Linked DNA regions of Homo sapiens: region 1 is linked to region 2. The links are contacts of gene promoters, found by promoter capture Hi-C in human tissues and cell types (Jung and others, 2019). All regions are on one chromosome and are shown on one strand. The core of a region is centred on a gene start or on the middle of the fragment in contact, and the rest is flanking DNA. Distances in the headings are between cores, read along the strand shown.

What was found. The method cuts DNA at HindIII sites, captures the fragments that hold promoters and counts their contacts. A contact is called where the count stands out against the background at its distance.
Region 1: a fragment that was not itself captured here is called in contact with the fragment with the promoter of ASPG in region 2 in 3 of the 25 tissues and cell types used here (dorsolateral prefrontal cortex, heart left ventricle and lymphoblastoid cells).

The regions. Positions count from the first base shown.
Region 1 is chr14:104,523,741-104,529,775 of GRCh38, forward strand. It overlaps LOC124903395 (a long non-coding RNA gene), which reads right to left. Exons shown (of 2, transcript XR_007064361.1): 2 at 5,945-6,035. Among named protein-coding and RNA genes, the nearest start is that of C14orf180, 53 kb to the right of the region's middle. The HindIII fragment of the contact is 6,901 bases long and covers 1,004-6,035 here.
Region 2 is chr14:104,082,795-104,089,628 of GRCh38, forward strand. It overlaps ASPG (asparaginase), which reads left to right and starts at 2,906. Exons shown (of 16, transcript NM_001080464.3): 1 at 2,906-3,058. The coding sequence starts at 2,977. LOC124903408 reads left to right here. Exons shown (of 2, transcript XM_047432050.1): 2 at 66-901. The coding sequence ends at 141. The HindIII fragment of the contact is 41,970 bases long and covers 1-6,834 here.

The sequences.
Region 1 (6,035 bases), core at 3,204-5,703, 440 kb after region 2:
GCGGAGAGGTGTCCCACACATTTAAACCACCCAGTCTCACAAGAGCTCACTCACTATTGCGAGGACAGCACCAATCCATGAGGATCCACCCCCAGGACCCAGACACCTCCCACCGGGTCCCACCTCCAGCACTAGGAATCACAATTCAACATGAGATCTGGCAGCGACATGCATTCAAACTAGATCCCCTGCTGCCTGATTCTCTGTGTCTCCACCTAGCTGCTAAACACTGTTTGAAAAGTCCCACACAAGCCATGGATCAGGCCTCCTCCAGGGTGTGGCCTCCTGAGCAGCCATGCAATTGGCACTTCATTTATTATTATTATTATTTCTTTTTGAGACAGAGTTTCATTCTTGTCACCCAGGCTGGAGTGCAATGGTGCGGTATTGGCTCACTGCAACCTCTGCCTCCCAGTTTCAAATTATTTTCCTGCCTCGGCCTCCTGAGTATCTGGGATTACAGGGGTGTGCCACCACACCCAGCTAATTTTTTTGTGTTTTTAGTAGAGACAGGGTTTCACCATGTTGGCCAGGCTGGTCTTGAACTCCTGACCTCAGGTGATTTGCCCACCTCAGCCTCCAAAAGTGCTGGGATTACAGGCATGAGCCACCGTGCCCAGCCTAATTTTGTCTTTTTAGTAGAGACGAGGTTGGCCAGGCTAGTCTTGAACTCCTGACCTCAGGTGATCTGCCTGCCTTGGCCTCCCAAAGTGCTGGAATTACAGGCGTGAGCCACTGTGCCCAGCCCTCATTTATTATTTATTGATTTAGAGACTGGGTCTTTCTCTATTGCCCCGTCTGGAGTACAATACCACAGTCATAGCTCACCGCAGCCTTGACTTCCCCACCTCAAGCGATCCTCCCACCTCATCCTCCCTAGTAGCTGGAAATACAGGAGTGTGCAACCATGCAGGGTTCATTTTTTAAAGGGTGGGGCTTACTCTTTTGAAATGTACTAAGTGACAGCTGAGGAGATGTTCCAGACCCAGGAAACAAAAGAAACCTCAGACCCTGCTCTACACCACTAAATGGCAAAAGCAAGAAGATTGACGACACCAAGTGTTGGTGAGGATGTGGGGCATCTGAGATTCCCGGGCCCTGAGGGTGGAGGGACATGGTCCCATCCAGATGCTGACATCAGGAGCCAGCCCCGCAGGGCCTCATGAGGTGGCGTACCCACCCCACAACCCAGGCACTCCTCTCCAGGGTGCCCGCCCAAGAGAAACGAAACCTGTCCACACACAGATCGGTGATAAACACCATGCAGCCTTATTCCTTGAGCCAAAAGGGAAAAGACCCAAACGTCCATCCACAGGTGAATAAACGTCCTGTCCATCCACACCATGAATGGTCCATTGGCAAGGAAAAGCAATGAAGGCTGGTAAAAAGATACACATGCCTCTCAAAATCAGCGTGCTGAGTGAAAGAAGACAGATGTAAGGGGATTGGTTTGGCTGTGTCCCCACCCAAATCTCATGTTGAATTTCCCACATGTTGTGGGAGGGACCTGGTGGCAGATAATTGAATCATGGGGGCGGTTTCCCCGTTACTGGTCTCATGAGATCTGGTGGTTTTACAAGGGGAAACCCCTTTCACTCGGTTCTTAATTCTCTCTTGTCTGATGCCACGTAAGACGTGCCTGTCTCCTTCGGCCATAGTTGTGAGGCCTCCTCAGCCACATGGAACTGTGAGTCCATTAAACCTCTTTTTCTTTATAAATTACCCAGTCTCAGGTATGTCTTTATCAGCAGAGTGTGAACAGACAAATACATAAAGGGACACTTACTCTACAACTCCCTGTACAAGAAGCTCTAGAGCAAAATGACTCTATCATGAAAGACATGAGAACAGCAGCTGCCCCTGGGTGGGAAGGACTGAACAGGAAGGGCCTGGAAGAACCTGGGGTGTGGAGTGTGCTACATCTTCATGGAGGTGGGGGCTGTGCTCAGATACGCATGCCTCAAAACTCCTCAAACTCTACACTTAATATCTGCACATTTCACTTCAATTTTTAAAAATAGATGCTACACCAAGAGGACATTTTCCTCCATCAGAGTGGCAAGAACCCAAAAGCTTGATAGCACCCTGCCTGGCCAGGCCGGGGAGAGACAGCCCTCCCTGGCATGAGCACACACAGGTGCAGCCCCTCTGGAGGGCAATGTGCACACTTCCATCAAAATTACAAATGCATGTTCTCTTTCACCCAGCGACTCCACTTTTGAAAACGTTGCAGTCTATAAACACTCTCGTTCACGTGCCCAGAGAGCGGCACATGTAGAGGCCTACTCCTCACAGCACAGTGTCTAGAGGCAAACTCTACAGCAGTCTATAAATACTCTCGTACACGTGCCCAGCGAGCGGCACGTGTAGAGGCCTACTCCTCACAGCACAGTGTCTAGAGGCAAACTCTACAGCAGTCTATAAACACTCTCGTTCACGTGCCCAGAGAGCGGCACATGTAGAGGCCTACTCCTCACAGCACAGTGTCTAGAGGCAAACTCTACAGCAGTCTATAAACACTCTCGTTCACGTGCCCAGAGAGCGGCACATGTAGAGGCCTACTCCTCACAGCACAGTGTCTAGTGGCAAACTCTACAGCAGTCTATAAACACTCTCGTTCACGTGCCCAGCGAGCGGCACATGTAGAGGCCTACTCCTCACAGCACAGTGTCTAGAGGCAAACTTCACAGCACCTGCAAAGGAACAGGTGTACTATGCTACCTATGCTACCTTTTGCATAAACATGGAAACATGAATAGATTCAGATTTGCTTGTAATTTCCTAAAGAAACTCTAGAAGACATTTGAGACGTTGATAATAGTGATTATCAGCTGATGACATAGGGGCTGTTGTCTAGAAGCATCTATAAGCCACAATTAACGGCCTGCACTAAAGGCTGAAGGGGTGTGTGTCCACCAGGAAAGGAAAACAGATATTGTGAGAGAGCCCTTGAGAAAATAAACCAGAGTGGAGGCGTGGCCTGCAATGGCCACACACACAATTCACACACACTCACACACAGTCACACACTTTCAGACACACGTACACCCACACACATTCACACTCTCTCACACATACACACAGACACACATTCACACACAGACACTCATATACACACACTCACATTCACACATACTTTCTCACACACACCCACACACATGCACACACACTTTCACACACATACACACATTCACACACTTACACACGTACACACAACACACATTCACACTTTCACACATACATCCACACACTTTCACACACATACACCACACACTCATTCAGACACACACTCATACACATTCAGACACACAGACACACACATACACACCCACACACATACACATTTAGACACACATTCACACATACACCCACACACATTCACAGTCATACACACATATTCACACACATACACCCACACACATTCACAGTCATGCACACATTTACACACACATTCACACACATACACACCCACACACTTTCACAGACATACACCCACATTTTCACACTTTCACACACATACACCCACACACATTCACACTCATACACCCATTCACGTTCACACTCATACACACATTCAGACACACATTCAGACACACATTCAGACACACACATACACACCCACACACATGCATTCAGACACACACCCACACACATTCACACTTATACACACACGTTCACACACATACACCCACATTCACACACACTTTCACAGACATACAGCCACATTCACACTTTCACAGACATACACTCACATTTTCACACACACTTTCACATACATCCACACACATTCACACTCTCACATACATATATGCACTCATGCACCACACTCACACATTCACAAACACATTCACACACACTTTCTCACACACACACATTCAGACACACATTCACACACACGTTCTCTCACACATACATTCAGACACATGCTCACATATGCACCCACACACTTTTGCACACACTTTCATGCACACATCCCACACACTCCCACACATACGCACTCATGCACACACACACACATACACTCACACACATACACTCTCTCCCACACCCCCAGCAGATAGCCCTCCCCTGTTAAAGACAAGTTACTATTAGGAAGTGACTTCACACCTATGCATAAATACTTCAAAAATTAAAATGAAGGAATTATACATAAAAGACAAATGAAAAACATTCACCCCTGGGAGAACGACCCAAGGAAACACAGGCAAAGTTCAGACAAAAAGGTTTCTTCTGCTTCAAGACAACCTCATCTCCTAAAAGGGAGAAGCGCTCAAAAAGGAGATGTGTGGTTTCAAAGAAGAGATGATAAGATAACAGAAGGTGTGAGCCACTGGAGCCCAGAAAAGAGATGGAAGAGAGAAGTTGATTGGAGACCATAACCACATCTGAACAAAGAGAAAAATAAACATGGCTGAAAATGCCTTTAAAAGGATAAAGTGTTGAGCTTGAGGAAGTCACACACAATAAAGTGAAAGTTTCTACAATGTAAAAATAAGACGGTAAGTACAGAATTCAAACAAAGAAGATATAACACATGCACAATTGATGTTCCTGAAGAAGAAAACAAAACACATAAGCCTGAAAAAAAAAAAATAGACTCTGGGCTATCACAAAATACATGTTCCTTAAGCCTGGATCTGCAGCTCTGCAGAGCACACATTCTGGGGGCAGGAGTGGGGCCAGCAAAACAGCACGATGTATGCTGCTGCCATTGTTAAACTTCAGGGGGTTGGAAATAATCAGACGGAGCATCACTTAAATATCAGAACACAGTAGCTACAGAGTTCTGATGGAAAAAATGTTTGACTTGAGGATTTTATATCCGATAATCCTGACTTGACGTATAAAGGAAACAGACTCTTAGGTAGGCAAGAACTTGAAGAATACACAGCGCCCACAGGAGGAGAAAGCGGGGATCTCCCGGGCCTGTGGCAGCCCGAGATTCCCATTGTCCCAGTGAGACAGGAGGTGGGGCTTGACTCCAGAGGAAGGGCTCAGACACTGGACCAGATTGAGGACTAGCTAAAACAGTGCTGGGGTGAAAGCAGCTTTCAATCAGACCTGCCCACCAGTGTGCCATGTCAATTTACTGTTGTCATGGCAACGCCCAGGAGTTACTGCCTCTTTCCATGGTACCCAATGATCCAAAAGTTACTGCCCCTTCCCTGCATACTCCTTAATCTGCATGCAATTAAAAGTGGGAACCCAAGTGCGGTAGCTCACACCTGTAATCCCAGCACCTTGGAAGGCCAAGACCGGTGGATCACCTGAGGTCACGAGTTCGAGACCAGCCTGGCTAACATGGAAAAACCTCATCTCTACTAAAAATACAAAAATTAGCCAGGTGCAGTGGCACATGCCTGTAATCCCAGCTACTTGGGAGGCTGAGGCAGGAGAATCGCTTGAACCTGGGAGGCGGAGGTTGCAGTAAGCTGAGATCACACCACTGCACTGCAGCCTGGGTGACAGAGTGAGACTCTGTCTCAAGAAAAAAAAAAGTGGGTATAAATATGAGCAGAACAGCCCTGAGCTTCCCCTCTTTGCCTATGGGGTAGCCCGGCCCAGCAGGTGCAGTCTTGGAGCTATAACACCACTGAAGCTGTGACACTGCAGCTTCGATAAAGCTGTTTTCTTCTGCCTCTGGCTTGCCCTTGAATTCTTTCCTGGGCAAAGCCAAGAACCCTCTCAGGCTGAGCCCCACTTTGCGGCTTGCCTGTCCTGCATCACCAGCATAGTTGTCCATAGCAAACTCTTGCTCTAAAAAGTGCTCAAGTTTGAGAGGGAAAGGGTGCTACAAAGGCTACAAATGACATTAGTAGAGGCTGGATGTGGTGGTGCGCACCTGTGGTCCCAGCTACTCAGGAGGCTGAGGTGGGAGGATCGCTTGAGCCTGGTTGGTTGAGGCTGCAGTGAGCCATGATTGCACAACTAGACTTCAGCCTGGTAACAGAGCTAGACCTCATCTTTTAATTCATTAATTACAGGATATTATTAGAACATCTGACAACATTGGAATACAGATGGCATATCATGTA
Region 2 (6,834 bases), core at 1,656-4,155:
ACCTGGGCACTGTGGGGCCATGCTCACTCCTGCCTCGGGCCTCAGCACCTGTCCCTTCCTGGCAGCCTGTCCCGCCTGGCATGCTGGCTTTGCTCCAATGCCAACCCTTCGGAGAGGCCTTCCCTGGCCACCCTGTTGTAAACAGCACTGCCTGTCTCCGTGTTCCCTGAGTGTTCCTCCAGGCACTGTCACTGCCAGACGCTGGTATTTTTGTCTACTATGGCCCCCACCCTGGCTGGTACACTCAGAAGGACGGGCTGCGTCCCCTGTGCCTAGAGAGGCATCTGGCACAGAGCCAGCCTTCAACATATATTGCATGAAAGATTCCGTCCAAGGACGCTGTAGATGTAGGTGGACGCAGACAAAAGCAAAGCAGGACAGTGGATTCGTCCAAAGACCGGCAGTGTCTTCAGGTGAAGCTGCAGCGTCGAGTCCTGGTGCTTGCAAGGTTTCAGCAGCAGAAACCTGATGGGGCTCCTTGCACCTGGGAGAAAAGCCACTCCAGTGAGGATTATTGCCAGTGAAGGCTGCCCTGGCCCCAGACAAGTTTTCCTAGAATTTATGGTAGCAGGCGGGTTGTTAAAGGATGATTCCCGAAAGGGCCAGACATGGTGCTCACAGGGATGCAGGGTGAGCATGCGTCGAAGAGCTTCCCTAGCCCAGGCAGCTGTGAGGACCAGCTCAGAAGAGAAGTCCTGAAACAGACACTTACAGATGAGGAATATTGACATGATTGTGCAAATGGACCTGAAACTGGATTTTCAGGGGGCTGTGATGGGCTGGATTGTCTCCCTTAGATTCTAATGTTCAAGTCCCCCACACCCCAGTGTCTTAGAATGCAACTGTATTTGGAGGTAGACTTTAAAGAGATGGTTGAATTAAAATGAGGCCCCAAATTCAATCTGACTGGTATGTCTATAAAAAGAGAAAGTCTGGACATCTGGAGATACATCAGGGATGCGTGACTGCTCAGAGGAAAGACCCTGTGAGGCACAGCAAGAAGGCACCATCTGCTTGCCCAGGAGACACCAACCTGTGACACCCTGACCTTAGACTTCCACCCCCAAGAACTGTGAGAGGTAGACCTCCTTGCACTGTAAATCACTCGTTCTGTTACTGCAGTCCCAGAAAACTAACACAGACCTTTGCTGGGCAGAATGCCTTTGCTTCTCTGCAGACAAGATTACTTTTGCACTATTGCACTGTTGTTATCAAAATAATTATATGGGGCTGGGCATGGCGGCTCACACCTGTAATCCCAACACTTAGGGAGGCTGAGGTGGGTGGAGTACCTGAGGTCAGGAGTTCAAGACCAGCCTGGCCAACATGGTGAAACCCCGTCTCTACTAAAAATACAAAAAAAAAAAAAGAAAAAAAAATTAGCCTGGTGTGGTGTGCACCTGCAATCCCAGCTATTCGGGGAGGGGGCTGAGACAAGACAATTGCTTGAACCTGGGAGGCACAGGTTGCAGTGAGCCAAGATCTTGCTACTGCCCTCCAGGCAACAGAATAATAATAATTTTTATTATGGAATCAGTGTCAAATGCTGGTGCCTTCTGGGGGCAACACACAGTTTCCCACCAAAGTGCATCAGTGCCCCAGGCAGTCAAGGTGCCAGGAGACGAGGAGGCCGCGGATCTTCTGTCCACCTGGGAGCAAGCCTGCAGCTTGGGACCCTCCTGGGACCCTGCACCCGCCAGTGCCCTGCCCTCCTGGGCTCTCATGGGAGTGAAGGAGGGTGGGCTCTGTAGGAGTTAAAGAAAGAGGAAAGAAACATGAAAAGCGGCTCAACAAAGGCAGGTTTATTTTGGAGAATAAACCTGAAAGGGACTTCTGGCCGATTTTGGTCAGGAGCCATCTCTCCTACAGACTAAGGATCTTTAAGGGTTTAGGAAGTGGGGAGCTTATCGCAGGCTCGGAATGTTTCTATGTGAGGGAAAGTTTATTGCGGGCTTGGAATGTCTCTGGTCGGAGGGGAGGTTATCTCGAGGTTGGCATGTTTCTGATTGGAGATGTTATTTGTGGTTTACGGTCGTGCTGACATTAGCTATTGGGCTGATGTGTTTTGGGCTGGATTTAGGCAGCTTTTTAATCAAAGGGAACCTAAAATGGCGGTGTTTGTCCAAGAAGGCCATACTCCTGCTCTGTCCCGCTCCAGCCCTTGGGGGCCCCTCGGGCTCTTCTCTTGGATGGTGTGTGAATGGGCACATGTGGAGGGGCTGGTCCAGCTCTGCCTGCCTCTGGCCATCCAAAGGAGGGACAGCAGGGCCTGGGCAGCAATGCCGGCCTTGGAGCCCCGGGGCTGTGGAGGCTGCTTGACAGGACACGGAGCCCCCTCTGTGCTCAGGTCGTGGAGGGCCTCGGGCACTACGGTCTGCCAGGCACCACATGTCACAGCTACTCAAACACCCAGGGCCGCCACGGAGGGCCAATGGCCGCAGGATGGCTCAGGACCCGCCCCACCCCTGTCGCTGCCTTTCTGGCTGCCCCCTAGTCCCTGGACAGGCGCTCCCCAGCCCCAAGCAGGCCCCAGCCAATCTCCTGCCCAGGCAGGAGCTCCCCCTGCCGCCCTCACAGACCTCACCTCTTCCTACACGTTTCCAAGGCCGCGCCCCGCCCCGCACCCCGCCAGGCCCCGCCCCGCACCCCGCCAGGCCCCGCCCCGCACCCCGCCAGGCCCCGCCCCGCACCCCGCCAGGCCCCGCCCCCACCCCGCCAGGCCCCGCCTCTCTCTCCGACCCTGGACAGTCCCCGGGACCCACCCCGCCCCCAGGTCCTGCCCCCGCCCGCCTCCGCGGGGCCTCCCACCCTCCCGGGCAGACTCCACTCCCGCCCCCTCCCCGTGGGTGCCCCCGCCGGCCCCGCCCTCCCAGGCTGCCCCCGGCGCCCCGGGCCTCCTCCGCGCAGTCCCTGAGTCCCGCAGGCCCTGCGTCCCCGCTGCACACCCCCGTCCACTCCCGTGGTCCCCGGTCCGGCATGGCGCGCGCGGTGGGGCCCGAGCGGAGGCTGCTGGCCGTCTACACCGGCGGCACCATTGGCATGCGGAGTGAGCTCGGCGGTGAGTCCGAGACCCTGGGCGGGGTAGGCCTCTGGACCTGGCCGCGACCGGGAGCCTCGGACCCTCCTGCACCCACGGGGGTCGTTGGGGAGTCAAATCCGCGCCTGGATGGGGGGTGCGGGCTGAGGTCGCTCTCCTCCGGTTCCGGCCACCGGCGTCCCCACGCATGGAGCCCCGACCTGGACAGAGGAGATTGCGGTGGGTTCTCGCCGTCGCGGTGCTCCCGGGAGCGCCCTGCGACCCTGGGGCCAGGCCCCCTGTGCTGCCGCTGCGCCCCTGAGGGCCAGCGTCCTGAAGTCCTGGAATATGGGGCGGGAGGGCCCCAGGGCATTGGCCTGCCGCTCCTGCTCTGGACACAGAAGGCTTAGGAGGCTGCCCTGGAGAAGGCTTAGGAGGCTGCGAGGACCCCTCAACTGCGACACCCAGGAGGGTGTCCCCGTCCCCTGGGGTCCTGGTCAGGCAGCAGTGGTTGGCACGATACTGGGGCTACCTGGCATCTGCGGGGACGCACGTGTTCACACCCGAGGTGGCCTCAGAGCCCTGCTTCCTCTGCCCCTGTGTGGACCTGGTTGACCAGAGACCAGCGATTGCGTCTGGACTGAGTTCTGCCTGGGTGGGGTCAGGGCCTGGGACAGGCACCGAGCTCTGTGGTACTCCAGCACAGTGCTGCCAGCCTGGGCTGGGCACAGGAAGGATGGTAGCTTGGGGAGCCTGAGGCCACCGGGATGGGGAGAGGACGGTTGCACTGGAGCCTCCAGAATGCCTGGGTGTTCCCCAGGAGGGCAGGACACTGCCTGGGGCCCCCAGATGGGCTCTGCTGTGATGTGGGGCCTCCCTTGGGGCCAGGACAGCCCCCTCGCCCCGTCTTGAACCTGTTTGCGACCCTCCATGGGCCACTGCCTGCCTTTCCCTCAGGAGCCCTTTCCACTCCTCCTCCTCCCACTCCCTGCTGCCCTGGCCCCTCCCCACACTCCTGCTTGTGTCCAGCGCAGCTCTCTCTCCTGGGACGGCTGGGACCCTCTCCGGCTCTGCCAGAGCCCAGGGCCTCCCCTGGCATGACCAGAACATTCTCTTGTCCCTTGCCCATCTGCCAACCACTTCCCCGCCCCTCCTATCCCCACCCCCTCTCACGGCCTGTTCCCTGGCAGCTGCCCCTCCTGGCCACCCCTTTCTGCTGAAGTGGCTGCTCAGAAGCCACCAGCACTCTGTCGGTGCTCTCAGATTCCACCCACCACACTGTGGCCGGTGCAGACCCCTCTGGAGGCCCACTCTGCGCCCAGCCCAGGAGACAAAGCCTAGTGGGGCTCGTCCACGAGGGACTCAGGTCCCCAAGAACGTGGCTGTCCAGGCTGCCGGGAGCCTCCTCTGCACTTCTCCTTCTGCCTGTGAATGGAACAAAGTCATTCACAGCTTGGCAAACGCCCCTGTGTGACACTCCACTGACACAGAGTGACACAATTCCTGTGCTTGGCCCTCACAAGCTAGAGAGAGAGGCTGCCATTGAAGGGATGGCATGCATTAAGGAGCTAGTCCCAGGGGCAGGATCTGCCAGGGCCCTGTAGGGGCTGTGGGCTGATAACAGGGTCTGAGCTGGGTGTGTGGATGGTGTGGAGTTTGGAGGCAGCCCAGGGAGGGCTTCTCTGAGGACACAAGGCCTGCAGGACAAAGATGGGAGAGGGCCAGGCCAGGAGCAGCCCTGCAAGGTGCAGGAAAGAGGAGTGGGGAGCCCAGCAGGGCCGGAGCCTGCCAGAGCTGCCCCCGAGTGGGGACAGGACCTGGGGACTCTGTGTGGGGCCTCGTCCGACGCCCCTGACGCTACCCCTTCAGGCTTGGAGTGTGGCCAACTGCAGTTTCGTTGAGCTCAACATGTAGTTCTTGAGTGGTCCGAGCTGCAGGGGCAGGTGGACTCTGTAACCCCACCACACACCCGTCTCGCTTGGCCCCCGCGTGCTCGCCGCAGCAGCCTGTGGGTGCACTCACACGCGTGCACCGCATTTCTGAAAGAGGCTGTGAGGTCCTGTGTCTGGGTGGGAAACAAGAGACTTGGAGGCTGGAAATTGGGTGTGGGGCGTCAGTCTTCAGACCTGAAGCAGCCTTCTGAGATCCCTTGGTGCTCTGTGCACTGGGGTCCTGGCTTCTGCTCAGCAGCCCGTCCTCGTGTGGCTGCGAGGTCACCCCCAGCTGTTGCTAGCTGACCCATGTGGGGCATCCACTTCCAGGAACCTGCAGGAATGGGCTCCCCCAACCCCTCGTGAGGTTGGAGCAGCCAGACTGTCAGGCGTCAATGATTTACTCCCTCCACACTGCTGACGTGGGCTCTGGCCTTCCCTGGGGAGGTGAGAGGGGAGTGGTGGCTTTGCCCTAGTAAAGCTGTTTGATTGTCGCTGTTGGAACGGCTTCTGCGCCTGCTGGTAAACAGTGACCTGTGGGTGGAACGCTGCACACCTGGAGCCCTGCCAGAGTTCAGGGAGGGCAGAGGTGATGCCAGTGGGGACGCCCCTTGACCCATCCCTTCTCTGAGTTCATTGAAGCTATCACAGGTCAAGGGGCATAGCGAATCCAAACACGGCTGATAACCCCAAGCCCAAGCTGGCATCAGTGGCCACGTTCTGTACACCCGAGAAACTTGAAGACTTCCTATGTCAAACTGGGAACCCCACCTGCTTGCCGGCCTGTCCCAAAGTCCCTCCTGAGCCCGGCTCCTTGCAGGCACAGCAGGGAGGGCAGAGATCTGGGGCCAGGCAGCTGAGAGAAGCTCCCTGCCCGGTGACCACACGGGTCCCAGCAGTCGAGAGTGTCAGTGGAGTGATGCCCATGGCTTCTTGGTTACTGCAGTGGCGTCTGTGCCCTTGGCCTGGACCTCCTTCCTGAATGGGTGCTACACGTTCACAAGTTTCTAAGCCTAAGCTTGACTTCGCTGGTGACAGTGGGGCCCATTGTCTTAGAGAGCAAAGCCTCCTTTCCAGGTGTTTGGCAGGGGGCTGAGGAGTTTCCAAGTCACCAGCAAACTCAGGCACCTGCCTGGATGGGCCAAGGAAGAGGTTCCAGGCAGGGCTGGAGGGTTCAGATTCTGCAGCCCTTGAAGCTTTTGGAGGGCCCTCATTGAGAAAAGTAATACAAGTTACAAAATCATAGTTAGGTGTGAAAGCCGGTGTTTGTTTATTTTTTATTTATTTTTATTTTTTTGAGATGGAGTCTCACTCTGTCGCCCAGACTGGAGTGCAGTGGCGCGATCTCAGCTCACTGCAAGCTCTGCCTCCCGGGTTCACACCATTCTCCTGCCTCAGCCTCCCGAGTAGCTGGGACTACAGGCGCCCGCCACCGTGCCCGGCTGAAAGCTGGTGTTTATTTAAAATAACAAAAGAAATTGCCCCAGCTGACTGGGCGCGGTGGCTCACACCTGTAATCCCAGCACTTTGGGAGGCTGAGGTGGGTGGATCACTTGAGATCGGGAGTTCAAGACCAGCCATGGACAACATGGTGAAACCCTGTCTCTACTAAAAATACAAAAAAAAAATTAGCCAGATGTGGTGGCAGATGCCTGTGGTCCCAGCTACTGGGGAGGCTGAGGCATGAGAATCGCTTGAACCCAGGAGGTGGAGGTTGCAGTGAGCCGAGATCTCGCCACTGCACTCCAGCCTGAGTGACAGAGTGAGACCCTGTCTCAAACAAACAAAAAAAACTGATGCCACTACATACCTGTTAGAATGGCTGCTGACGTACAACACATTGACTGCGGGGTGAGTGCTGGAGCCCCAGAGTTGGAAAGTGGTCCA